Linked DNA regions of Homo sapiens: all the other regions are linked to region 1. Evidence: promoter capture Hi-C in 16 types of primary human blood cells and fetal thymus (Javierre and others, 2016). All regions are on one chromosome and are shown on one strand. The core of a region is centred on a gene start or on the middle of the fragment in contact, and the rest is flanking DNA. Distances in the headings are between cores, read along the strand shown. Region 1 holds the start of GPR3 (G protein-coupled receptor 3). Region 2 has its middle 70 kb from the start of TENT5B. Region 3 overlaps TRNP1 (TMF1 regulated nuclear protein 1). Region 4 holds the start of LOC101928391 (a long non-coding RNA gene). Region 5 has its middle 8.5 kb from the start of LINC02574. Region 6 has its middle 13 kb from the start of IFI6.

Region 1 (3,966 bases), core at 1,277-3,776:
TGACGACAGCCAGGGAGTCACAAGAGTGTGGTGCTGGTGCTGGCAAACAGGAATGGCTTTATCTGCAGCAATGGTGAAGATTTTTCACCAGAGGATCAATAAGCTACGAAAACTTAAAAAATATATAATTGCCATTCAGAGTAGTAGAAGATAGTCCCTGATACCCCCCTTTGATGCCAACCTCCCAGCAGCCTTCACCCATCGCAGAGACCAGAACTCTGTAGGGACCCAGCTCTGATGGGGGAGTAAATGGATCCCTGACCCTGAGTCTTGGGGCCCTGATGCCCTTGGATCCTCTCTCTGACACCCCCACCTTCCTGGGCACCAGGCATATTACTATTCTCTCTGTTTTCCTTTTTTCCTCTGGTTGTTCCCTTTTAGGTCAATCATCCAGTCCATGATTATTTCTTCAATACCCATTACATATCAGGCACTGTTCTCTAGCAGAAATGGGACATAGTCAGTATCCTCTTGGAGCTTAGATTCTAGTGGGGCTGACATGTAGTAAAACAAACAAACATGAATTCATTTATAATTTCAAGAGTGCTTCATCCTCCAAAAATGAATAAATCAAGAGAAGGGGAGGGAGAGTGATGGGGAGGCCAGTGGCGATCTGAGAGTTCAGAGCAGCCTGTTTCAGAAGTAATTCGGGAGCAGAGACCTGGATGAAGAGAAGGGTTGTTGTCAGAGGGGTCAGGTGCAAGAGCCCAGGAGGAGGAGCCCCTGAAGCCACTCCTCACTCTCTGCTCCCGCCCCTGGGTGACATTATTTACCCCTAAAACATCAGTTGCCACCTGCATGCCTACACCTCCCAGGTGTCCCTCATTATCCAGCTGTAACATTGATGGCCAATGGCAAGTAGAACCCACTCAACAACCCCATGAGGCCGGTACTAATATTATCCCTGTGTTTTAGATGAGGAAATAGGCACAGAGAGCTGAAGAAACTCTCCAAAGTCACCCAGCTAGGAAATGGAGAAACTGAGATTGGACACTTCCACCCCCTAAGCCCCCTAAACTCACCACATCCAACCTGAAATGAATCCTCTTCTCCAGCTCCGACCCCCTCCTCCTCCCATGTTCCCTGCCACTTGACCTTCTGCTGCCTCACACTCAAACCCAAAACCTGCCTGGTGGAGGCTGACCATGGGGGCTGCAGTGATGGTGCTGTGATGGGGGTGTCCAGTGGGGCCTGGGATCCTCAGGCCTCTTAACCTCATCTTCCCCTCCCACAGGCCTGCATGATTCCAGGGAGCATCAAGGCAAGAGACACAGGGAGAAGGAGCAGCCAGTCCCCCTGCCGCAGGACTGGCCACATCTGTCACATCTGGAGAAGTCTGCCCAGAGTGGTTCCCCTGGACTAAGGGCAGATGGCGTTGGGGAAGAGGGAGCTCTTTCTCCTTGCTCCACCCATCAGGATGCCTAAAATAGGAGGCTGAGAGGGGCCTGCCCTGAGGACTGAGCTGCCAGGCTTTCTGCTTCCAAGTTCTTCCCGGCTCCCCATCTCCTCCTGCTTCAGGGAAGTGCACCCCTCACCCCCTCCACGCTGGCTTTCTAGATACTGGAATAAATAATTCAGGTTTTGAAATCTTGCCAGGCCCACCCCTCCGGTGCTGTGAGGGCGCTATTGGGCTGACATGAGTGACGTCACCCAGCTCTTATCCCAGCCCCGGCATCACGGGACTTGCCCTGGCAGCAACTTACCTGCCTGGTCACTGTCAGTCCAGACCCTCTACCCTGTGCCCCTCACCCTGGAGCCCACTCACCACAGCCACCTGCTATCTTCGTTCCAGGGCCCCACAGTCCTCATGGCTTAGCATTGTCGCTTCAGTACCCCAGCCATTCTGACAGGGTAATGGTGACCTGAAGTCACCTGGACACTCCATGTTCCCAGGCCGCTGCCTCTGCCATCCCGGGGTCCCTGAACTCCCCCCTGCTGCATAGTCACCCTGACACTGCCATGGTTGCCCTGAGGGCTTCCCCTCTACCGTTAGCGTCCCACGGCCATCACCCCCCACCCCAAGATTCTGTCACCATGCTAATGTCGTCACTGCCACCCACCTCCCCGCTCCCTCGTGCTCCCTGTCATCGTCACCTCAGGGCCCCATCATCTTGGAAACCCTGTCATTCTCACCAGGGAAGCCCAACCAGCCCCATCACAAGCTCTTCCTTCGTCACCTGGATCTCGTCAGCCTCTCTGCCACCCAAGGGTCCCATCACCCCACAGCCTAGCCGGGCCCCCTTTCCACTCTTCCACCACGTTCCCTGCAGCCTCTCTGAGACTTCAAGGCTCTCGCACCGGCGCCTCTGAAACCCCCGGCCCGCAGAGGGCGCCGCGTCAAGGACAGCGCGGGCGGACTCGGGAGGGGGCGGGGCCGCAGCCACGGTCGCTTTTTATGAATGGGGGAGCGGGCGGTGCGAGGCCTTATTACTATGCCGCGCAACGCGCGCTGCGCCCCAGCGCGCCGCGCCCATTGGCTGATCGGACCGCTGACGTCACCGAACCGGTGGCCGGGGGCGGGGCGGGGTGACTCACGCCGCTTCTCCCGCGGCCGCGGGGGCTTCTCGGGGTCCACGCACGCCCTGCGCCGCCAGGACCCGAGCGGAGCCTCCCCGCGGCCCGGCCGCGCCTGGTCCTGAGCGGTGAGTAGCGGGCCCCGCCGCGGGCACCAGGGGTCCTGAAGGGCACGCAGGATGCTGGGGCACTGGGCCGGCGGAAGGCTCCTAGTGGCCGGCCGGGGTTCGAGTTCGAGGTGGGAATTCTGGGTTTAGGCGATTCTGGGTTAGCAGGCTTGGGCCCAAGTGCTCGAGTGCTGGGGTTGAGTTGGATGACCCGGCGAAGGGTAAGCATTCCTGCAGGGACCCGAGGCCCTGGAGGGACTGATGGTCATCTGAGGTTAAGCCGGCAGGAGGCGTCTGGGGCAGGGACCCAGGGGTCCGAACAGCAGGAGGTGTCCAATTTAGGAATCCAGGTATCCAGGCAGGAGGCAGAGTCAGGCCCAAAATCCAGGTGTCCGGGCAGAAGGAGGCATCTGACTCAGGGATCCAGTCTTCCAGCAGGGGGGTCTGCCCAGAGACCTAGAGATTCAGGCGGAAAGAAGGGTCCAGCCAGGAACAGAAGTCTGGGAGGGTGGGGGGTGGGGGGCTGAGTTCCCAGGTGTTACCGCGGGAGTGCGGGGTGATGGCTGGCGGGAGCTTCACGCGCATTCCCTGGGGGCGGAGTCTAAGGCTGGCAGTACTGAAAATCGTGAGGGGTCTGGGAGCCTCAGGCACGAGCTAGCATCATCATCTCTGATGGGAGGGAGCGGAGCTGCTCAGTCTCCCTGATGGGGTAGATGTTTCCCTACCCCAATCTTGAGCCTTCGGGGGCATCCCCTGGATCCTATGGCCCTCTTCCACTTATAGTACCCCTTCTTCTGTCTCTCCTCTGGTCACACACGTGGGAAAAAGAGACCTGCAGGACCTAGGACAGGGATCCCCAGGAAGAGACCCCTGTTTAGAGGCCTGGGGGCATTGGAGGGGACAGCGGTATCCTGGGAAGAGCCCCAGGGCATGAATGTGGGGATAAGGCATTGGGACCCTATCAGGTATCCTGAGGAGAGACTCCCACCACGTATCCTGAGAAGCACCTCACCCCCTCCAGACCCCAACTCCCATCACCCAGCTTGGTCAGCTTCTCACAAGGCCTTTCTCCTGCAGGTACCATGATGTGGGGTGCAGGCAGCCCTCTGGCCTGGCTCTCAGCTGGCTCAGGCAACGTGAATGTAAGCAGCGTGGGCCCAGCAGAGGGGCCCACAGGTCCAGCCGCACCACTGCCCTCGCCTAAGGCCTGGGATGTGGTGCTCTGCATCTCAGGCACCCTGGTGTCCTGCGAGAATGCGCTAGTGGTGGCCATCATCGTGGGCACTCCTGCCTTCCGTGCCCCCATGTTCCTGCTGGTGGGCAGCCTGGCCGTGGCAGACCTGCT
Region 2 (4,493 bases), core at 103-2,602, 310 kb before region 1:
ATCCCTATACAATATAATTTAGATTTTTCTCTTCTTGAACTTTATGTAAATGGAATCATTCCCTGTAGATCTCTTGTGTTTGCTTCTTTTGTTCACCATTGGATTTACACCATCAATATATGTTATTGTGAAGTTCTAGTTTGTTTGTTTTCATTGCTGTTTAATATTCCATAGTATGATTATAAAAATTATCCACTTTACTGTATATATATATATATATATATTTTTTTTTTTTTTTTTTTTTTTTTTTTTGTGGAGATGGAGTCTCACTCTGTTGCCCAGGCTGGATGTGATCTTGGCTCATTGCAGCCTCAACCTCCAGGGCTCAAGTGATCCTCTTGACTTAGCCTCCCGAGTAGCCGGGACTACAGGCATGTGCCACTATGCCTGGCTAATTTTTGTATTTTTTGTAGAAACAGAGGTCTTGCCATATTGCCCAGGCTGGTCTCGAACTCCTAGGCTCAAGTGATCTGCTCACCTTGGCCTCCCAAAGTGCAGGGACCACTTTACTATTGACAGGCATTTGAATTATTTCACTTTGAGTGTACATAAACAATTCTACTCTGAACATTTGTGGACATGTTTTCTGGTACATAGTGCATACACTTCTTAGGGGATTTTTCCTGTCCTGTTTCTGAGTCTTAGGGCCTGAGTATTTATACTACTTTACTGGAAAATGCCAAACTCTCCCGGGAGGTCGTTATACTGATATACGCCAGCAGCATATGAGAGGCCGTGCTGCACCACGTCCTCGCCACTATTTGACATTGCCAGGCTTTTGAATTTTCCTAACTGGCACATGTATCATGGTATTTCATTACAGTTTTTGCATTTCCCTGCTTATTTATGGAGTGAAGCACTTTTCCATATATTTATTAGCCATTTGAATTTTCTTTTTCTGTCACATGCCTATTATATGTATTTATTTTTCTTCTCTTTTTTTTTTAAATTGAGACAGAATCTTGCTCTGTCGCCCAGGTTGGAGTGCAGTGGCATGATCTCAGCTCACTGCAGCCTTGACCTCCCAGACTCAAGCCATCCTCCCACCTCAGCCTCCTGAATAGCTTGAACTATAGGCTTATGCCATCACACCTGGCTAATCTTTGTGTATTTTGTAGAGATGGGGGTCTCACCATTTTGCCCAGGCTGGTTTTGAACTCCCGGGTTCAAGTGATCTGTAGGCCTCAGCCTCCCAAACTGTTGGGAATTACAGGTGTGCCAATTTGTCTATTTTTCTATCAGTGGATTTGTCTTTTTCTCTTTTTTTTGAGATGGAGTCTTGCTCTGTCGCCAGGCTGGAGTGCAGTGCTGTGATCTCGGCTCACTGCAACCTCCGACTCCCTGGTTCAAGTGATTCTCCTGCCTCAGCCTCCTGAGTAGCTGGGATTACAGCCTATGCGCCACCACGCCCAGCTAGTTTTCATATTTTTAGTAGAGATGAAGTTTCACCATGTTGGCCAGGCTGGTCTCGATCTCCTGACCTCGTGATCTGCCTGCCTCAGCCTCCCAAAGTGCTGGGATTTATAGGCCTGAGCCACCGCGCCCAGTTGGATTTGTCTTTTTCTTATTGATTTGTAGGAGTACTTTATATATTCTGGATAGAACTTCTTTATTAGTTTTATGAGTTCAAGTATTATTCCATGTTATGCCTCATTTTTTCATTCTCTTTATGGGGTCTCTGAATTTTAACATACTTAAAAATATCTGCCTTTTATGGTCTCTCATGGTACCTTATTCCCTTGTTTGCGTGGTTAACAGTTCACTTTTCTTTTTTTTGAGACGGAGTCTTGCTCTGTCTCCCAGGCTGGAGTACAGTGGCTTGATCCTGGCTCACTGCAGCCTCTGCCCCCCAGGTTCAAGCGATTCTCCTGCCTCAGCTTCCTGAGTAGCTGGGACTCCAGGCTCCCGCCACCACGCCCAGCTAGTTTTTGTATTTTTAGTAGAGACGGGGTTTCACCATCTTGGCCAGGCTGCTCTTGAACTCCTGACCCTGTGATCCACTCGCCTCAGCCTCCCAGAGTGCTAGGATTACAGGCGTGAGCCACTGCACCCAGCCGACCCTGTCTCTCTCTTTTTTTTTTTTTTTTTGAGACGGAGTTTTGCTCTTTTTGCCCAGGCTGCAGTGCAATGGCGCGATCTTGGCTCACCGCAACCTCCGCCTCCCAGGATCAAGCGATTCTCCTGCCTCAGCCTCCCGAGTAGCTGCGATTACAGGCATGTGCCACCATGCCCGGCTAATTTTGTATTTTTAGTAGAGACGGAGTTTCTCCATGTTGGTCAGGCTGGTCTTGAACTCCTGACTTCAGGTGATCCACCAGCCTTGGCCTCCCAAAGTGCTGGGATTACAGGCGTGAGCCACCAGGCCCAGCCCCGACCCTGTCTCTTAAAAGCCCAGTTTGCATTTTTAAAACACATAATTTATTGAAATCTTGAGGCTGAGGATGATGGTGCATTCCTTCAGAGAACATTTGCATTTGCTTCTATCAGGTACTAGGGGCATTACAAGCCCGAGGTCATTTTCAACTGAATTCACAGTTTGAAGATGTGTAGAGCATGGGAGGTGATGTGAGTTTCTTGTGCGATTCTGCATAAGGGGTAGTGTCAGGATGCAACTTCTCAGATATCTGATTGTCTTCTTCCTGCTCTTTGTGGCACCAGGGCATATTTCCTTGCAGGCCCCTGGGGGTGGGGGATTGGTTTCTTCTGGTTCACCCTTACTCTGAGAGTATGACACTTTGGGGTCTCATATCAGATTCTCCTTCTTGGTTAAGTTCTGGACTTTGTGAGACCACCCAACCTGAAGCCCCTGTATACCTGGCTAGCAAATGATCTCAGGAAAAAACAGGCTTACCTCTCATTTCACTTACGTTTGACTGGTGATTTCATTATTAGCTGGTCATTGATTTTCAGGAAGATGTTTTTAGGAAGATGTTTACCAGAAACTGTACTCCCTAAAGCTTATGTACTGAGATGTCAATTGGCAAACTAGTTATAATAGGTAAAATGTTATAATAGGCAAATGTGTTCAAAACAGGGGAATTATTAAATAAATTTACAAGATAACATATTGCAATTATCATGCTCATTTGCTAAAATACCCTTTATGGCAAAGACTGCTTGGTGTCCACCAAAATCTATTCTCTCTTTCTTTTGTATAAACAGTAGAGTTACTTAGCTGCCCACCTAGAGACTACAGTTCCCAGCCTCCCTGCAGCTGGGTGGGGCTATGTCATAAGTTATTGGCAATGGATGTGAGCAGAATTGATGTGTGTCACCTCCAACTACAGGCTTTAGAATTTAGGTGCCTTCTCCTTCATGCTCATTTCCTTCCCGTGGTTTAAACACGGACCATGGTTTGACCATGAAAATTAGGAGGACACCTTAGGGGATGTCAGAGGAGCAATGAGATGGAAGGAACCTGGCATTGAATGACAGCAGGGCACACAGTGGCCCCAACAACCTGGACCACTTATCTCAGGATCGTTACATGAGAAAAAAACACTTATGTGAAGCTGCTGTATTTGGGGACAGCTTTGTGACAGCACCTTAGCCTCATCCCCAACTAACAGAGACCCATTTAATAATGCTCCCGTCCAGGGATATGTCCAGTACATTAATCCTAGTTCTCAACTTCCTCCAGTCTTAACCTCTCTTTGGGTCTCTTCTAGGGTCTATGGTTTATCATTATCACTATCTCTTTGCCAATACCTGGAACTCCATAACCCCTCTTTGACTTCATCTTATTTGCCTGGCAAAACCCATCTGTCTTGGTGCCTGCACTCAAGTATCTGAAGATCACTGACAAATTCGTACAGCTGAGCTGAGCAGTGCCACTGTTCTCAAACATCAAAGGGACTCGACACGGAAAACTCTACTGTTTTTCTAACACGAACAGTTTCTTTCTTCTCCTCTTTCTCAAGGTAACTATTTCACTTCTTTTCCTCTTTCTTCAAATTTCCTATTTCCCTTTCTAGATTCATTCTCATTTGATTTGGTAACCTTGCCTGACTATTTATTGAGAGAATTAATGCCTTCAGTCACACAGACACCTTTTCATCTTTCCTCCACAAAATCTGCAAACCCATCTGCTTCTTCCTACTTTGGAGATGTTGTCCCTACTTCTCTCAAGGGTGTCTTTTTTTTCTCTCTCTTCTTTCTTCTTTTCTTCTTCTCCTCCTTCTTCTTCCCCTTCTTCTCTTTCTTCTCCTTCTTTTCCTCCTTCTCCTTCTTTTTAAGACAGGGTCTCGCTCTGTCACCAAGACTGGAGTGCAGTGGTGCAATCATGCCTCAATCTCCTGGGCGAAGCGACCCTCCCACCTCAGCCTCCTGACTAGCTGGGGCCACAGGCATGGGCCACCACCCATGCCTGGCTATGTTTTTTTGTCTTTTGTTTTTTGTAGAGACACAGTGTCTCTATGTTGCCCAGGCTTGTCTTGAACTCCTGGACTCAAGAGCTCCTCCTGCTTCAGCCTCCCAAAGTGCTGGGATTACAG
Region 3 (3,924 bases), core at 634-3,133, 400 kb before region 1:
GGGCTGTGGCCGTGTCTAGCTGTTCGGGTGTGCTGTGGTCATCCTCCCTGCGCACCTACAGCCGCAGACCGCCGGTGGGGGGCGGGGGATGCCGGGCTGCCGCATCAGCGCCTGCGGCCCGGGGGCCCAGGAGGGGACGGCAGAGCAGAGGTCGCCGCCGCCGCCCTGGGATCCCATGCCGTCCTCTCAGCCCCCGCCCCCAACTCCGACCTTGACTCCTACCCCGACCCCGGGTCAGTCCCCGCCGCTGCCGGACGCAGCTGGGGCTTCAGCAGGCGCGGCCGAGGACCAGGAGCTGCAGCGCTGGCGCCAGGGCGCTAGCGGGATCGCGGGGCTCGCCGGCCCCGGAGGGGGCTCTGGCGCGGCTGCGGGGGCGGGGGGCCGCGCGCTGGAGCTGGCCGAAGCACGGCGGCGGCTGCTGGAGGTGGAGGGCCGCCGGCGCCTGGTGTCGGAGCTGGAGAGCCGCGTGCTGCAGCTGCACCGCGTTTTCTTGGCGGCCGAGCTGCGCCTGGCGCACCGCGCGGAGAGCCTGAGCCGCCTGAGCGGCGGCGTGGCGCAGGCCGAGCTCTACCTGGCGGCTCACGGGTCGCGCCTCAAGAAGGGCCCGCGCCGCGGCCGCCGCGGCCGACCCCCCGCGCTGCTGGCCTCGGCGCTGGGCCTGGGCGGCTGCGTGCCCTGGGGTGCCGGGCGACTGCGGCGCGGCCACGGCCCCGAGCCCGACTCGCCCTTCCGCCGCAGCCCGCCCCGCGGCCCCGCCTCCCCGCAGCGCTGACCTCCACGCCCGGACCCCTGGCCACCCCGACAAGCTTCGCCGAGGTGCCGACCGACCGACTGATCGCGGACGCCGGCTGGAAGGACTACGGATCCGCAGGAAGAGGCAGTTGGGGGCCAGGGGCCCAGTAGAGGAGGCTGAGGTGCGGTCTTAGCGGCTGGTGCGTTCGAGGGTCGGTCATGGCGTGTGGGGGGCTGGTCCAGGGCCCGGGAACTCCCTTCCCTGGAGCTTCTGGCGTCTGCTGGGTCCCTAGTAAAGCTGCCACTTTCTGTTGCCGCCTCTCCCGACCATCTGGAGAGTGAGAGGTGGTAGCATCAAGTCTCCATTATAAGAGTTGGACTCTTGAGGGGGCTCAGATCCCAGGAACGGGTTGGCGGCAAACTTTTACCACTTGGAACCTGCCGCACGGATGCAGCACCCCCCATCCTCACCCCCACTTGCGTGGCCTTTCCCGGGCCCCTCGGAGCTGTGAGCAGTCTTGCCCTTGAGGATGCTGCTTCCTGGCGCCGCCCAGCTCCGTGCCTTCGGGAGGACAGAATAATGAGGCCCCAGGATGGGGTGGAGGCTGGCACAGGGCTGTACCACTGAATTCCCCCTCTAGGCCTGTTTCACCTTTGGGGAGACGGAATCCCAGAGAGGTTTAGGATTTGTTCTCTTCATACTTAGGCCCTTCTTCTTCTAGGAGACAGCTTTTCTTATGCCGTCATGCAGGTTCGCAAAAATTACAGCCTGACTCACATAACCAGGACAGGATGTCTGGCACCTGCTCACCCAGGGATCCTTACATAGCAGAACCTAGAGGCTTAACTCCCAACCTGTTACTAAGATGGCTCGGCCAGGTTGGAACCAGGTGATACCCTTTAACAGGCCCCAAGGGGGCAGGTGTGGTATCAGCTTCCAGAAAGGGGGGCCTTAAAGAGCCAGATCTGAGGTGAGATCTGCTTCTCTTCCTGTCCAGATGCCCTTCAGTCTCCCATTCCTCTGTCCCCACTGTGAATGACCTGGCTACCACATTGCTGCTCACCAGCTGAGTTAATTTCACTCTCACTTATCAGTCTGCGAAGTGGATCTCTTAACCTCCCAGAGGGGCTGTGGTGACGTTAACCCAGGGCAGAGGTCCTTCTTCTTCCTCACTAAATCATGGAAAGATAATTTTTTTGTTGTTGTTGTTTGTTTTGAGACAGTGTTTCGCTCTTGTTGCCCAGGCTGAAGTGCAATGGTGCGATCTTGGCTCACTGCAACCTCCACCTCCCGGATTCAAGCGATTCTCCTGCCTCAGCCTCCCAAGTAGCTGGGATTACAGGCATGTGCCACTATGCCCATCTCATTTTGTATTTTTGGTAGAGACCGGGTTTCTCCATGTTGGTCAGGCTGTTCTTGAACTCCCGACCTCCGGTGATCTGTCCGCTTCGGCCTCCCAAAGTGTTGGGATTACAGGTGTGAGCCACTGCACCTGGCTGATAATGTATTATTTTAACTCACACCTGGAAACAGGCACTGCTTTTGCTGATAGAGCCATGAGCTAATTTAAAGTCCTACTTTTGCAGGGTGGAGAGGGGATTTCTCAAGGTCACATGCCAGTGAGGGAAGAATCAAGGTCCCTGGCCTGTGTGTGCACCTCCCACAGTACCCTGGGCAGGGGCTAGGGAGAGTTGTCCTCTGGATCCTGTCTGCTCTGTGACTTAGAACAACTCTGCCCCCTCTCTGGGCCTCTTTCCTCAGTCCCTCCTTGAGTCAGGGCTTGGGAATGGGGTGAAGTGGGGAGGATGCTTCCTTCCACAGGAATCTGGGAGGGTCAGGTGCACTGCTCTGATAGGCTGAGGCTTGGGGCCCTTATGGGATCCTCCCTCATCAGCCCTTCTCCCTGGATACCAAACTTTTTGGCTGGTTTCTCGGCTAACAGCAAGGCTTTCCTGAACCCTTTCTTAGCTGGGGAAGGGAGGTTCAGGAGGGAGTCTCAGAGCCTCTGACAAAGTTAGGGAACCCCAGGGAAGTAATGAAGGGGGCAATGCCATCCTCTGGTCTTTCCAAACAGGGAACACCTTCCAAAGCCACTTGGGTCATTTGGGGTCTAGAGGCTTAGAGAGGACAGGACATCTTGGAAAGAGCTGAGCTCAGGCCTTGGTGCTGGGCTGCAGCCAGGACCATTTGTTTTCTGGGTTGCATGGGAGGGGGCACTTGGTCCGGAGAAGCTTTTAGCTAATGGTGTAAAGTGCTCGGTGCCATCACAGTTTTGGCTTTCTCCAGGATTTATTTGTAATCAGCTTGTCCCGATTTGGGGGTGGGGTGGGTGAGTAGAGAATTAGAGACGACACTGGCTAGTGTGTGTGTGTGTGTGAAGTAGAGGGTAGTAAATGGAGATTGGTCCTGGTGTCACAGGCAGCTCTGCCCCCTCCCTCCACTTCCAGATGTCCCACTGCTCCTCATCAAGCTTCCTGGCCAGGGCACACACATGTAGACTTGAACCCCAGCTCCTAGTTAGTGCTATGTCCATTACCACATAGCCAACTAACAAAAGGCACCTCCCACACCTGCCTGACCCTCCAGGGCCCCCTCTAGAAGCTCACCCGTCTGGCTTTATTCAGGCTGGGTGCGGTGGCTCATGCCTGTAATCCCAGCACTTTGGGAGGCCCACGAGGGCCAATCACTTGATGTCAGGAGTTCAAGACCAGGCTGGCCAACATAGTGAAACCCCTTCTCTACTAAAAATAACAAAAATTAGCTGGGCGTGGTGGCAGGTGCCTGTAATCCCAGCTACTCGGGAGGCTGAGAAAGAATTGCTTGAACTCGGGAGGTGGAGGTTGCACCGCACTCCAGCCTGGGCAACAGAGCAAGACTGTGTCTCAAGAAAAAAAAAAAAAAAAAAAAAAGCTCACCCGTCTGCCTCCATTTTCTTCTTAATTAGCAAATATTGATAGGGGCTCAGAAAGCAGAGCCAAATCAGAGGAGGGTCTCTACTTTTAAGGGCTTATGTCTCCTGGCTCTTTTCCAGGCAGGCTTTTCTGGCTGTCACCATCCCAGGGGATCCCTTGGGGGCTGAGCAGTTTGTTGGAGGCCAGCTCTAGCCTCGGACAGAAGGCTGACCCACCCCTTTTCCCCACATGACTTTCAGAACACTTTCTTGGTGGCCCCCAGCTCTGGGGACAGGACTG
Region 4 (4,516 bases), core at 1,897-4,396, 360 kb before region 1:
CCCCTGGAACCAAAGCTCCAGGAGAGCAGGGATTTTGTTTTCTATGTAATCCAGCACCTGGAAACCTGTGTGTGCTCAGTAAATATTCACGGGATGAGTGAAGGTGAGACAGGACTAACATGGGTCGCAGAAGAATGGAAAATTCCAGGCAGCAGTTTCACATGACTAGCAAAAGGAAGCTGTTGAAATAACTGCAGAAGCTAGGGGCTCATAAGACCCTGAACAATCAGGGCATGGAGCAAGCTGGCTGAGACCAACTGGACACAGCATGGTGCTGGATTTGACCCAGGTTTCTCCTAGGACCTCATTATACGCTTATTAACATACTAAAAATCACACACCCACCAGCACCACTATAGTTCCCATATTTGGTGTAAAAATGGGTGGCACCACAGTTCCAAGAAATCTCCACCTTTTTCCAGTAACTTTCATAAATATTCCACCCCTTGGTTAAAGAAACCTATAAAAATAGAAACCACAGCTGGGCACAGTGGCTCACGCCTGTAATCCCAACACTTTAGGAGGCCAAGGTGGGCAGATCACATGAGATCAGGAGTTTGAGACCAGCCTGGCCAATATGGTGAAACCCCGTTTCTACTAAAAATAAAAAATTAGCCGGGCGTGGTGGCACGTGCCTGTAATCCCAGCTACTCGGGAGGCTGAGGCAGGAGAATCACTTGAACCCGGGAGGCGGAGGTTGTAGTGAGCCGAGATCATACCGTTGCACTCCAGCCTGGGCAACAAGAGCGAAACTCTGCCTCAAAAAAAAAAAAAAAATAGAAACCACAAAGCCCCTTGTGTGACTTTCTTGAGTACACCCACACTCCCCTCTTGAGTGTGTGTACTTTTAAAACATTTTTAAAAATATTTTTGAGACAGGGTCTCACTCTGTAGCCCAGGCTGGGAGTGCAGTGGCACAATCACAGCTCACTGCAGCGTCAACCTCCAGGGCTCAAGCCAGCCTCCCCTGTCAGCCTCCTGAGTAGCTGGGACTACAGGCACTCGCCACCACACCCAGCTAAGTTTTGTATTTTTTGTAGAGATGTTGCCCAGGCTGGTCTTGAACTCCTAGGCTCAAGCGATCCGGGATTACAGACATAAGCCATCGTGCCCAGTCAAAGCTCCAGTTCTTCTTCTTTTTTTTTTTTCTTTTTTTTTTGAAACAGAGTTTCTCTCTTGTTGCCCAGGCTGGAGTGCAATGGCGTGATCTCGGCATACCGCAACTTCCACCTCCAGGGTTCAAGCGATTCTCCTGCCTCAGCCTCCCAAGTAGCTGGGATTACAGGCATATGCCACCACGCCTGGCTGATTTTGTATTTTTAGTAGAGATGGGGTTTCTCCATGTTGGTCAGGCTGGTCTTGAACTCCTGACCTCAGGTGATCCACCCACCTTGGCCTCCCAAAGTGCTGGGATTACCGGCGTGAGCCACCATGCCCGGCCAAAGCTCCAGTTCTTATCCCATCTTGGCCTCTTATTGGCTGGGTGACCTGGGTGCGAACCCTTCCCCTTCACTGAGCCTTGGTGTTCTCCTCTATTCATTAGGTCATCACCATCTACCTCTCAGGGCTAGCATAAAAGACCCAGTGTGTGAGCAGTGTCTGGTATGTAGTCAAGGCTGGCTTGCCCTCCTCAGAAACTGCCAATTTGCTAATTTGGTACAAGCTTCAGACAGGTGTGGATTTCGGTGGTGCGGGGATACAGGGGAGTGGAGAAGGAAGGTGGAAGAGAGAGGGACACCAGAGAAAGCAGACGAGGCCCTGAGAGAGAATCTGCAGGGCCAGAGGCTGGAGTCTGAAGACCAAGATAGGCACAGAAGCCTGAGCTGTCCCTGGCACGATGTGAGCAGGGCAGATGTTCCAATCTCCCTTCCCTCAGGTGTGGAGCGGCTCATGAAGCCCCTCCCTGTCTAGAAGCTGGTTCGGCCCATCTGATCCGACCCTGCAGGGAGGCAGGCAGAGGTGAGTGGTGAGAAAGCCCATTTCACAGGTGAAGAAACTGAGGCTCAGGAAGGTGGCGATTTGCGTCTCTATCTCATCTCGCCTGCCAGGGTAGAAGCTCCTCAGATTCAAGCGCCATTTAGTTCCTGCTTCTGTTTCCTCAGAGCCATGCTGTTGATTGAAAACAGGAGTGAGTGTTCCTCAGTGGGTTCCCAGCCCCAGCAGGCCTCACGCCCCCTTTTGTAACAAGTATCTTGCAATGCCCCTTTCCTATAATGGAATACAATTCATAGATTATGTGGTCTATTTATACACTACTAATTTTTTTTTTTTTTTGAGATGGAGTTTCACTCTTATTCACTCTTATTGTCCAGGCTGGTGTGCAATGGCGTGATCTTGGCTCACTGCAACCCCTTCCTCCCGGGTTCAAGTGATTCTCCTGCCTCAGCCTCCCAAGTAGCTAGGATTACAGGCATGTGACACCACGCCTGGCTAATTTTTTTCTTTTGTTTTGTTTTGTTTTTTTTTAAGATGGAGTCTCACTCTGTCGCCCAGGCTGGAGTGCAGTGGCGTGATCTCGGCTCACTGCAAGCTCCGCCTCCTGGGTTCACGCCATTCTCCTGCCTCAGCCTCTCGAGTAGCTAGGACTACAGACGCCCACCACCATGCCCGGCTAATTTTTTTTGTATTTTTAGTAGAGGAGACGGGTTTCACTATGTTAGCCAGGATGGTCTTGATCTCCTGATCTTGTGATCCGTCCGCCTCGGCCTCCCAAAGTGCTGGGATTACAGGCGTGAGCCACCGCGCCTGGCCGACGCCTGGCTAATTTTTGTATTTTTAGTAGAGACGGGGTTTCACCATGTTGGCTACGCTGGTCTTAAACTCCTGACCTCAGGTGCGCCTCGGCCTCCCAAAGTGCTAGGATTACAGGCGTGAGCCACTGCGCCCAGCCTATTTATTTATTTATTTTGAGACAGAGCCTCGCTCTGTTGCCCAGTCTAGAGTGTAGTGGCTCAATCAAGGGTTACTGCAACCTCTGCCTCCTGGGCTGAATCTATTCTCCCACCTCAGCCTCACCAGTAGCTGAGACTACAGGTGCACGCCACCACACCTGGCTAATTTTTTTTTTTTTTTTTTTTTTTTTGTAGAGACTGGGTCTCACAGTGTTGCCCAGGCTGGTCTTGAATTCCTGGGCTCAAGTGATCCGCCCTCCTCGGCCTCCCAAAGTGCTGGGATTACAAGCATGAGCCACCGTGCCTGGCCTTGGCCTTGTCTGTCTTTTTTTTTTTTTTTTTTTTTTTTTTTGAGACGGAGTCTTGCTCTGTCACCAGGCTGGAGTGCAGTGGCGCGATCTCGGCTCACTGCAACCTCTGCCTCCTGGGTTCAAGCGATCCTCCCTGCCTCAGCCTCCCGAGTAGCTAGGACTACAGGCGCACGCCACCAAGCCCAGCTATTTTTTTTTTTTTTTTTTTTTTTTTGGTATTTTTAGTAGAGACGGGGTTTCACCACGTTGGCCAGGGTGGTCTCCATCTCTTGGCCTCGTGATCAGCCGGCCTCGGCCTCCCGAAGTGCTGGGATTACAGTCGTGAGCCACCGCGTCTTTTTAAACCTGTAAATACTCAGGCCTACTCTTGTAGAAAAAAGGCTTCTCAAATTTGAAAGTGCCCGGGAGCCACCTGGGGCACATTCCTTGGAATGTGCAGGTTCTGAGTCAGCAAGTCTGGGGCTAGACCTGAGAGCCTGCATTTCTAACCTGCTCCCAGGTGGTGCCCAGTTGTTGCTCCTCAAGCTGGGAAAAGATGACCTTGGCTGCAGATCTGAGGGGCTGCGAAGCCCAGGGCGTCCAGTTCCCGAGGTGCCCTTCCGCCCAGAGCCGCCCTCTCCCCAGACCCCAGTGAGGGTCAGCCCTCTCCCAGGCCTGCCCTGATCGCTGCCCAGGGAAGCGCCCGCCCTGCCGCAGCCGCCCAGTCTGATTCCTGGCATCCACGTGGCAGGGCGCCCGCTGCAGCGACAGCAGTTCCCACGGGAGGAGTCGCACCGGGAATGGGCCGCGGGGGAGGGAGAGAGTGGGAGGGAGTGAGGCCCCGGGAATTGTCCTCTGAAGGGGCGGCGCATGGGCGTCCCCCGCCCTGCTAGCCCCATCTCCTTCCCTGTCCCTGCTTGGGTGAGTAAATCCCTAGTGCTTTGATTCGCTTGCCCCTCCTTCCGTCTCTCCCCACTTCCTCCTCGCTCGCTCGTTCCCTCTGCCTTCAATCTGAGCTGGGCCCTTGCAGTGAGGAGCCCACGGTTACCTGGCTGTTCCCTGCCCGCCACCTCCCTCCAGGTGGGAGGCTTATGGAGGGCTATTGCTGATCTGGGCAGGGCAGGGGCCGTGGTTCCTGGGGAGGACGGAGGAGGTCTCCCACCGTGAGAACGAGGCCAGGCTAATCTGCTCGCCCGGCGCCGCTGGAAGGCAAAACATGAGCCCCTAACAACAACAACAACTGTCCTTCCCTCCCAGGAGGACTGCACTCTGCAGTTTACAGGACACTTCTCTTGCCACTGTCATGTTTTATCCTCATAAACTCGGTGTTCTTGC
Region 5 (3,869 bases), core at 1,353-3,852, 260 kb after region 1:
CGACAGTTGGGTTGTTTCCAGTCTTTGGCTATGGAAACAGTGCTGCAGAGAATAACTTTATACATACATCATTTATTACTCATGCAAGTCTATCCGAAGATGAATTCCCAGAAATAGGTTATCTGAAGGTATTTTGATAGATTTTGCCAAAATGCCCTTTTACCAATTTATATTCACACATGTGAGAGTCATGTGTGAGAACATGTGTGAGAGTAGTACTATTTCCTCATAGAAATGCTCACAGAATATGTTATTCAGCTTTTGGGGTTTTTTTGGCCAGACTGATAAGACATCGTATCTTAGTCCATTTTGTGCTGCTATAATAAAATCCCACAGAATGGATAATTAATCATAAACAGAAGTGTATTGGCTCACAGTTTTGGAGGCTGGGAATTCCAGGATCATGGGGCCCACATCTGGCTTGGGCCCTCTTGCTGTGTCATCCCATGGTGGAAGAGCAAAGAGAGGGTGACAGAGAAGAAAAGGGAACTGAACTTGCCCTTTTATAATGAATCTGTTCCCAGAATAATAATCCCACTCCTGCTATAACAGCACCACCAATCCATTCATGAGGGTGAAACCCTCATGACCTAAACACCTCTCCTTAGGCCCAACCTCCCAACACTGTTGTATGGGGTTAAGTTCCCAGCACCTGCTTTTCGCGGCGTAATGTTCAAACTGTAGCAATATTCTAGTCTAGTTTTTCTGGTTTGCATTTCTTTTGAGTTTGAGCTTCTTTTTATGTGTTTAAGAATCACTTATATTTACTTTTCTGGGAACCGTCAGTTCATATGCTAGGCCTCTATTTCTTTCTTTTTTTCTTTTTTCTTTTTTTTTGAGATGGAGTTTCGCTCTTGTTGCCCAGGCTGGAGTGCAATGGCGTGATCTCGGCTCACTGCAACCTCCGCCTCCCAGGTTCAAGCGATTCTCCTGCCTCAGCCTCCTGAGTAACTCGGATTACAGGCAGGCGCCACCATGCCCAGCTAATTTTTTTGTATTTTTAGTAGAGACGGGGTTTCTCCATGTTGGTCAGGCTGGTCTTGAACTCCCGACCTCAGGTGATCTGCCCACCTTGGCCTCCCAAATTGCTGGGATTACAGGCGTGAGCCACCGCGCCCGGCCTAGGCCTCTATTTCTATAAGATTAATCAATTTCCTGGAATTCTTTCTAAATAAGCGAGATGTTCCCTTGTCTGTGATTAGAGTTGTAAATATTTCCCCCAGATTGTCATTTGTCTTATGCGTTGATTTATAGTGTTTTTCCATGCAGAAGTTTTTGATTTTTATATAGTTGACTTTATCAATCTTTTCTTTTTACAGCTTTTTGATTTTTGAGTCATGGTTAAACTTTCTCCACTATGAGATTATACATTCTCCCATGTTTTCCTCTAGTGCCTTTACGGTTTTATTTTGATTTTTCAAACATTTAAATATTTTATCCCTTGGGAGCTCATCCTGGTGCTCAGTGTGAGGCACGGATCTAATTTTTTTTTTCCTAGTTGGCTACCTAGGTGTCCCAACACCATTTATTAAAGAGTCCATTTTCCACTTTGAGAGGACACCTTTATCAAATACTAAATTCTCGCGTGCAATTAGGTCTATTTCTGGACTTTCTATTCTAGTCCATTGGTCTGTTTGTCTCTTCCTGAACCAAACCAAGTGGTTTTAATTATTATTTTTTGTTTTGTTTTGTTTTGAGACCGAGTCTCGCTCTGTCGCCCAGGCTGGAGTGCAGTGGTTTGATCTCGGCTCACTGCAACCTCTGCCTCCTGGGTTCAAGCAATCCTCCTGCCTCAGCCTCCCAAGTGGCTAGGATTATAGGCACCCACCATCACGTCTGGCTAATTTTTATATTTTTAGTAGAGAAGGGGTTTCACCATGTTGGCCAGGCTTGTCTCGAACTCCTGACCTCAAGTGATCCACTCGCCTCGGCCTCCCAAAGTGCAGGGATTACAGGCATGAGCCAGCATGCCCAGACTTAATTATTTATTTATTCTTATTTTATTTTTTTGAGATGGAATCTCTTTTCATCGTCTAGGACGCTGGAGTGCAGTGGCATGATCTCGGCTCACTGCAACCTCTGCCTCCTGGGTTCAAGTGATTCTCCTGCCTCAACCTCCTGAGTAGCTGGGACTATAGGCGCCTGCCACCAGGCCAGGCTAATTTGGCTAATTTTTGTATTTTTTTTTTTTTTAAGATGGAGTCTCACTCTGTTGCCCAGGCTGGAGTGCAGTGGCATGATCTTGGGTCACTGCAACCTCCAACTCCCGGGTTCAAGCAGTTCTCTGCCTCCGTCTACCAAGTAGCTGGGACTATAGGCATGCACCACCACACCCAGGTAATTTTTGTATTTTTAGTAGAGACAGGGTTTCACCACATTGGCCAGGCTGGTCTCGAACTCCTGACCTCAGGTGATCCGCCTGCCTCGGCCTCCCAAAGTGCTGGGATTACAGGCGTGAGCCACCATGCCCGGCTCTTAATTTTTGTATTTTTAGTAGAGATGGGGTTTCACCATGTTGGCCAGTCTGGTCTTGAACTCCTGACCGCAAGTGATCCACTCGCCTTGGCCTCCGAAAGTGCTGGGATTACAGGCGTGAGCCACCCCATCAAGCCCCAAGTTGTTTTAATTTTTGAGGCTTTAAATATTGTTATCTAACAGTAGTCAGTGAGTGTTGCCTTTTTTTTTTTCCAGAATTTTTCTGGCATTCTTTTTCTTTCTCTCTCTTCTGTCCTTTTTTTGTTTGTTTTTGGGGGTGGGGAACCTCAGGAGACCTCATGGGATTTATGCCTTTGCAGGAAAAAGAAAATCAATAATTACATGTTATTTGGTAGTGGCTAAGAAAAAAAATAAAGCAGGTAAAAGAGCAGAAGGCAACTAAGGGGTAATATTTAGATAGGCAGCCAGGGAAGTCCCCTGGATGAGGGGGAGATACCTGAGTGAAGGATGGGAGACCACGTGGCTACCTGGGGGAAGACATGCCTGGCAGGGCCAAGGGCAAATGCAGAGGCCTGAGGCAGGAGCACGCCTGGCATGCTGAAAAACAGCAAGGCGGCCAGTGCAGCTGGAAGGGAGTGATCAGAGCAGAGAGTGGGAGGCAGTGAGGTAGATCACGCAGGGCCTTGTAGGTCACAGCAAGGACATTGGCTTTTCCTCTGACACCAGGAGCCATGGGGGGGGCGAGGGGGTTGAGCAGAAGAGTGACATGTTCTGACCTCCGTTTTAACAGGATCACTCAGGCTACTGCGTGGAGTGCAGACTGCAGGGGTGAGGGTAGCGGCAGGGAGGGCAATAGGATTTGGGATGGGTGAATAAATTGTAACTTGGTTTCCTTGTCCATTTTCCCCCATCAAACTGTGAGCTTTGCAAGGACAGGCCCTGAGCTTATTCAGCTCTATGAGCCAAGTGCCAGGCCCAGAGTAGGCGCGGATAAACACTGTGTGAGGAAGAAGGGTGGGAAGACAGAGGAGGAGACAGGAGGCAGGAGAGGCAGAGCCCCCTGGGAAATGGCTCTGCAAAGGCCACAGAAAGAAGAGGAAGCAGACATGATGACAGAGCCTGTTCCCCAGCAGGAACCAAGGCCAGGAAGGGCTGAAGCTGGGGAGCTGGGCCCCCAACCCCGGATCTGTGGCCCCCATTAACAATCAGGTTATGTGCAGTTTATGCTGGAGTTCTGCCAACAAAAGGACCCTGGCCGGGGGGGGTGGGGTGGGGATCTGTTCCTCAAGGTGAAGGTGCAAAGGTGAGGTGGCCTGGCAGAGAGGAGAGCAGCTTTCCTGAATCCTTGCACACAGAGGCCCTGAGAAAGGATAATTCACCCCCTTTATAGATGGTAAGTTGAGGCTCCATGAAAGAAACAGACCTAAGTGATA
Region 6 (3,985 bases), core at 284-2,783, 290 kb after region 1:
CCTGTTCTGTTCCGATCTGATTACCAGTGCCTGCCACCCCCAGTCACATACCCCCTGCTTGCTCAATCGATCATGACCCTCTCACATGGACCTCCTAAGAGTTGTAAGCCCTTAAAAGGGACAGGAATTGCTCACTTGGGGAGCTCGGTTTTTGGAGATGTGAGTCTTGCCGAAGCTCCCAGCCGAATAAAGCCCTTCCTTCTTTAACTCAGTGTCTGAGGGGTTTTGTCCGTGGCTTGTCCTGCTACAAGATCACAGTCACATCTCTCTCAAAGCTTAAGGTGTTTGTGGGGTTCCAACAAGGTTTACATTTTATTTATTTTCACACTTCTTTGATCAACAGAGCAGCCTTCCAAACAGAATGTTGTCCATTCACCTTGGAACTGCCATCCACAAACCAAGCTGTTTGCTGGCCAGTTGAGAGCCGTTATGGGACACTGTAGAAGCCAGCAGCTCCTCACGCAAACCAGTCCTAGCAGAAAAGAGGCTCCTTTCTTTTATCTCCTCCTGGCACTCCCCAGGTAGCATGCTTCTGTATAAGCCATTTCCATTTTGTTATGGAACTCTTCTGGACACTGCTGTCTCTATTTGAGTGTTTCTGTGACATCACCTGAGATCGCATGGGTATTTCAGGTGTCAAGATCATTTTATGTCCTTCAGTCACAGGGGTAGCTTCAGTTAATGTCCCGTAACAAGTTAGTAAGTGCCCCTCAAGTGGAAATTGTCTAGTCCAAAATCTCAGTAGTCTTTGCTTGCAGGTGCTCACAGCCTTTTCTCTTCTTCTTCTTCTTTTTTTTTTTTTTCTGAGACAGAGTCTTGCTGTGTTGCTCAGGCTGGAGTGCAGTGGCACCATCTCTGCTCACTGCAACCTCTGCCTCACCTCTCGGGCTCAAGCAATTCTCCTGCCTTAGCCTCCCGAGTAGCTGGGATTACAGGCACCCACCACCACTCCTGGATAATTTTCAAATTTTTAGTGGAGATGCGGTTTCCCCATGTTGGCCAGGCTGGTTTTGAACTCCTGACCTCAGATGATCCTCTTGCCTTGTCCTCCCAAATTGCTGGGATTACAGGTATGAGCCACCATGCCCAGCCACTCATAGGCTTTTGTCATAGCCCCAGCAAATGCTCCACAAAGAGCTATCGAATGGAGAACTTGTCCCTATCAGCACTCCAGCTTCTACTCTACAGTGTGGGCTTGGGTTTCCATTTAGCATGTCCAACTAAAATTTCCAGAAGGGTGGATTTACATGCCTTCTGTTTTACAGTTCTAGGTAGAGGGAACAACCCTGTCATATACAATGCCCATTTCCATAAAACATTAGGTAAAGGAGACACAACCACTTTACATTAAGCCTTTACGTAAAGCCTGTTTAGACATTCCCACTTTCAGAATCCTGTTGACCAAGTATATTTTTATGTCCCGGGAACTTCTCTTCTCCACCCCCTCCCCAGACCATTTTATTCTCTCTTGGGCAATAAGTGTTTAGGTCCTTAGCCAGAGGCCAGGCCAGGAGACTCTGGCCTCTCTGTCAATCTTCCCTTGATTAACCAGTCTGACCATCACCCCAGGCAATTCCAGGTAGGGTTTCTTATTGTAAATCTTTACCTTCCTGCTTTTAAAATTCCACCAAACTGGAGGAAATAGAGCAAACTGGTTTGGGGCCTTTAATGTTGAAGACCATCAGAGACTCTCTTTGGTCCACCCAACCTTCAATAGTGTTGTATTAAGACATTTATTTTGGCCACGCGCAGTGGCTCATGACTGTAATCCCAGCACTTTGGGAGGCCGAGGCTGGCAGATCACCTGAAGTCAGGAGTTCAAGACTACCCTGGCCAACATGCCAAAACCCCATCTCTACTAAAAATACAAAAATTAGCCAGGCGTGGTGGCAGGTCCCTGTAATCCCAGTTACTTGGGAAGCTGAGGCAGGAGAATTGCTTGAACCCAGGAGGCAGAGGTTACAGTGAGCTGAGATCATGCCACTGCACTCCAGCCTGGGTGACAGAGCGAGACTCTGTCTCAAAAAAAAAAAAAAAAAAAAAAAAAAGACATTTGTTTTCACTGCATTAATTTCCTTTTTTAAAACCTCATTAATTTTTATTTTACTCATCCTATTTCTTAATAACCATCTAAGGATTTCCATCCTGCTCAGACGAGTCTCATGACTCTCCCCTTTCTTTTTCCTCTTAGTTTCACCCTTATCAGTGTTCTCTTCTTTCTCTCCCTCCCTCTCTCTCCTTTCTTCTTTCCTTCTCCTTCCTTCCTTCCTTCCTTCCTTCCTTTGCTTCCTTGCTTGCTGGGGGACCTGTTTATTTACAGCAGCATTTTAGGAAAAGGGCAAACATGGCTCTCTCCTTCAACAAATCCCTGCTTTGGTGCCCAAGGAGACAGGGCTGAGGTAGCCCCTGCCTGGCCCTTGGCTCTGTGGAGCCCTGCACCCTTGGGAGGACAAGGTAGCTCCCCAAAGCTGTTAATTCCAAAGCTGTTATTTGCAAGGGATAGAGGGACCTTGTTTCAACACCCAGCATGTGGGTCAATTTCTGGGGAGGCTGGAGAGGACCATGGCCAGATGGTGCCTTGACCTCCGCATGTCCAGACCCACCAATGGGATCTCCTCCCAGGGGCTCTGAAATCCTGAAAAGAAAACCAAACGCACTGAGTGAGGGTCTTATGCTTCCCTTCATAAGAGCCATGACACCGCGGCAGCCCTGGTGCAGAGGAGGGGCTGGGACTCACCCTCCCCGCCTGCCACCTGTCCTTTCTACTTTGGCAAACAACAACAAAACCCTGGAAGCTTCAAGAAAATGAAGTAAACTTTAGGGAACAGAAAAAACAAAACAGCAGGCTGTGCCCAAAGCCCTCTCTCTGCCGTCCCCCTCTCCGAGTCCTCCTGATGAGCTGCAGCTGGTGGTGCCCGCGTGGCCACAGCACAGGTTTTCCTCACAGAGCCACTGGCCCAGCTGAAGGTGACTCTCCTAAGCTCCCTTCACCAGCCACTCTGGCTTCCACGCTGGGAAGGTAGGATGGGGTGCAGTCGGGGGAGGCACCCAGTTATTTAGAGAGACAGAAGAGATTGGCACACAGGCAGCATCACCGAGGAGGCCCCACGCACATGCTCAATTCTGGCCAGTGCATGGACAGACCCCCTGCTGAGGGGACACAACAGCACAGCCCATGTAGCCCAAGGCACCTCCAGAGGTGGCAGATGAGCAAGGATGAGGACCCCAGGGTGGAAACTCCTGGATTTGGAGCTGGGCAAGTTTCTGTCCCCATGGACTGGGCAGCTTTAAGAACCAGGGGAGCTGAGGGCAGGAGGCCCAGGGAGGCTCAGCCAGCTGTCAGGAGCAGCCCAGACCCCACCCCTAGAATGACAGAGGAGGAAGAGGGGGAGGGTCATCATCTGTAAATGCCACCAAGACAGTGTTGGGTGGCACCTGACGTTCCCCAGCACACACGAGCCACTGGTGCCTCTTCAGGCTGTGTCCGTTCACATGGTGGGACCTCCTGCCCATTGGTGGTAGGGGCAGGGTGCGTGGAGAGGCCTTCTCCAGGAGCTGCCTGGAAAACAGGGCAGCCCTGACCCCCACTGGCTGACAGTGAGCAGCATGTCTCCTATCACGGAGTCTGAAGGTCCCCGCAGTGTTGAGCAAAAGTTTACATGGCACCCACTGGCCAGACCCCATCGACTCCACAGAGAGCAAAAGAGAGCCTGCTGACCTCCCAGCTGTTGGCCCCAGAGTCACAGAAGTCACCCCTACTCAACACCAGGACACAGATCCACCGCCCAACCTAAGAAAACAGGAACAACTCCAGGGCCACCTAGGCCAGGCAGGTGAGAGGAGCTGGGCGACAGTAGCTGCCAGCTGCAGCTCTGCAGGATCAACAAAAAGGCAAGATGCCGGGGGGAGGGGAGGAGGCCAGGAGCCTTGCGGCACATCACAGAGCAGAGGCGGTGCCCACGGCAGGGTGCGGCTAATTCCTCAG

The links. Contacts are between HindIII fragments. The CHiCAGO score rates a contact against its expected background, and 5 or more counts as called.
Region 2: a fragment that was not itself captured here is called in contact with the fragment with the promoter of GPR3 in region 1 in 1 of 17 cell types (M2 macrophages); the score reaches 6.9 in M2 macrophages.
Region 3: a fragment that was not itself captured here is called in contact with the fragment with the promoter of GPR3 in region 1 in 1 of 17 cell types (erythroblasts); the score reaches 5.2 in erythroblasts.
Region 4: a contact is called between a fragment that was not itself captured here and the fragment with the promoter of GPR3 in region 1, in 1 of 17 cell types (M0 macrophages). The highest score is 6.3, in M0 macrophages.
Region 5: a contact is called between a fragment that was not itself captured here and the fragment with the promoter of GPR3 in region 1, in 10 of 17 cell types (erythroblasts, naive B cells, naive CD8 T cells and 7 more). The highest score is 8.2, in erythroblasts.
Region 6: a contact is called between a fragment that was not itself captured here and the fragment with the promoter of GPR3 in region 1, in 2 of 17 cell types (naive B cells and total B cells). The highest score is 6.5, in naive B cells.

Annotation. Positions count from the first base shown.
Region 1 is chr1:27,390,096-27,394,061 of GRCh38, forward strand. GPR3 (G protein-coupled receptor 3) reads left to right here and starts at 2,527. Exons shown (of 2, transcript NM_005281.4): 1 at 2,527-2,642; 2 at 3,699-3,966. The coding sequence starts at 3,704. RefSeq lists enhancers at 1,143-1,679, 1,680-2,216, 2,754-3,289 and a silencer at 2,231-2,730. The HindIII fragment of the contact is 9,449 bases long and covers 1-3,966 here.
Region 2 is chr1:27,080,881-27,085,373 of GRCh38, forward strand. No RefSeq gene overlaps it. Among named protein-coding and RNA genes, the nearest start is that of TENT5B, 70 kb to the left of the region's middle. The HindIII fragment of the contact is 3,206 bases long and covers 1-2,955 here.
Region 3 is chr1:26,993,699-26,997,622 of GRCh38, forward strand. It overlaps TRNP1 (TMF1 regulated nuclear protein 1), which reads left to right. Exons shown (of 2, transcript NM_001013642.3): 1 at 1-914. The coding sequence starts at 89. The coding sequence ends at 772. Among named protein-coding and RNA genes, the nearest start is that of TRNP1, 2.0 kb to the left of the region's middle. RefSeq lists silencers at 1-236, 267-326 and enhancers at 1-491, 3,864-3,924. The HindIII fragment of the contact is 2,158 bases long and covers 805-2,962 here.
Region 4 is chr1:27,027,728-27,032,243 of GRCh38, forward strand. LOC101928391 (a long non-coding RNA gene) reads left to right here and starts at 4,031. Exons shown (of 8, transcript XR_007065559.1): 1 at 4,031-4,102. The HindIII fragment of the contact is 2,970 bases long and covers 1,662-4,516 here.
Region 5 is chr1:27,652,259-27,656,127 of GRCh38, forward strand. No RefSeq gene overlaps it. Among named protein-coding and RNA genes, the nearest start is that of LINC02574, 8.5 kb to the right of the region's middle. RefSeq lists a silencer at 2,253-2,655. The HindIII fragment of the contact is 5,418 bases long and covers 1-3,869 here.
Region 6 is chr1:27,682,836-27,686,820 of GRCh38, forward strand. It overlaps the pseudogene CHMP1AP1. Among named protein-coding and RNA genes, the nearest start is that of IFI6, 13 kb to the left of the region's middle. The HindIII fragment of the contact is 2,520 bases long and covers 274-2,793 here.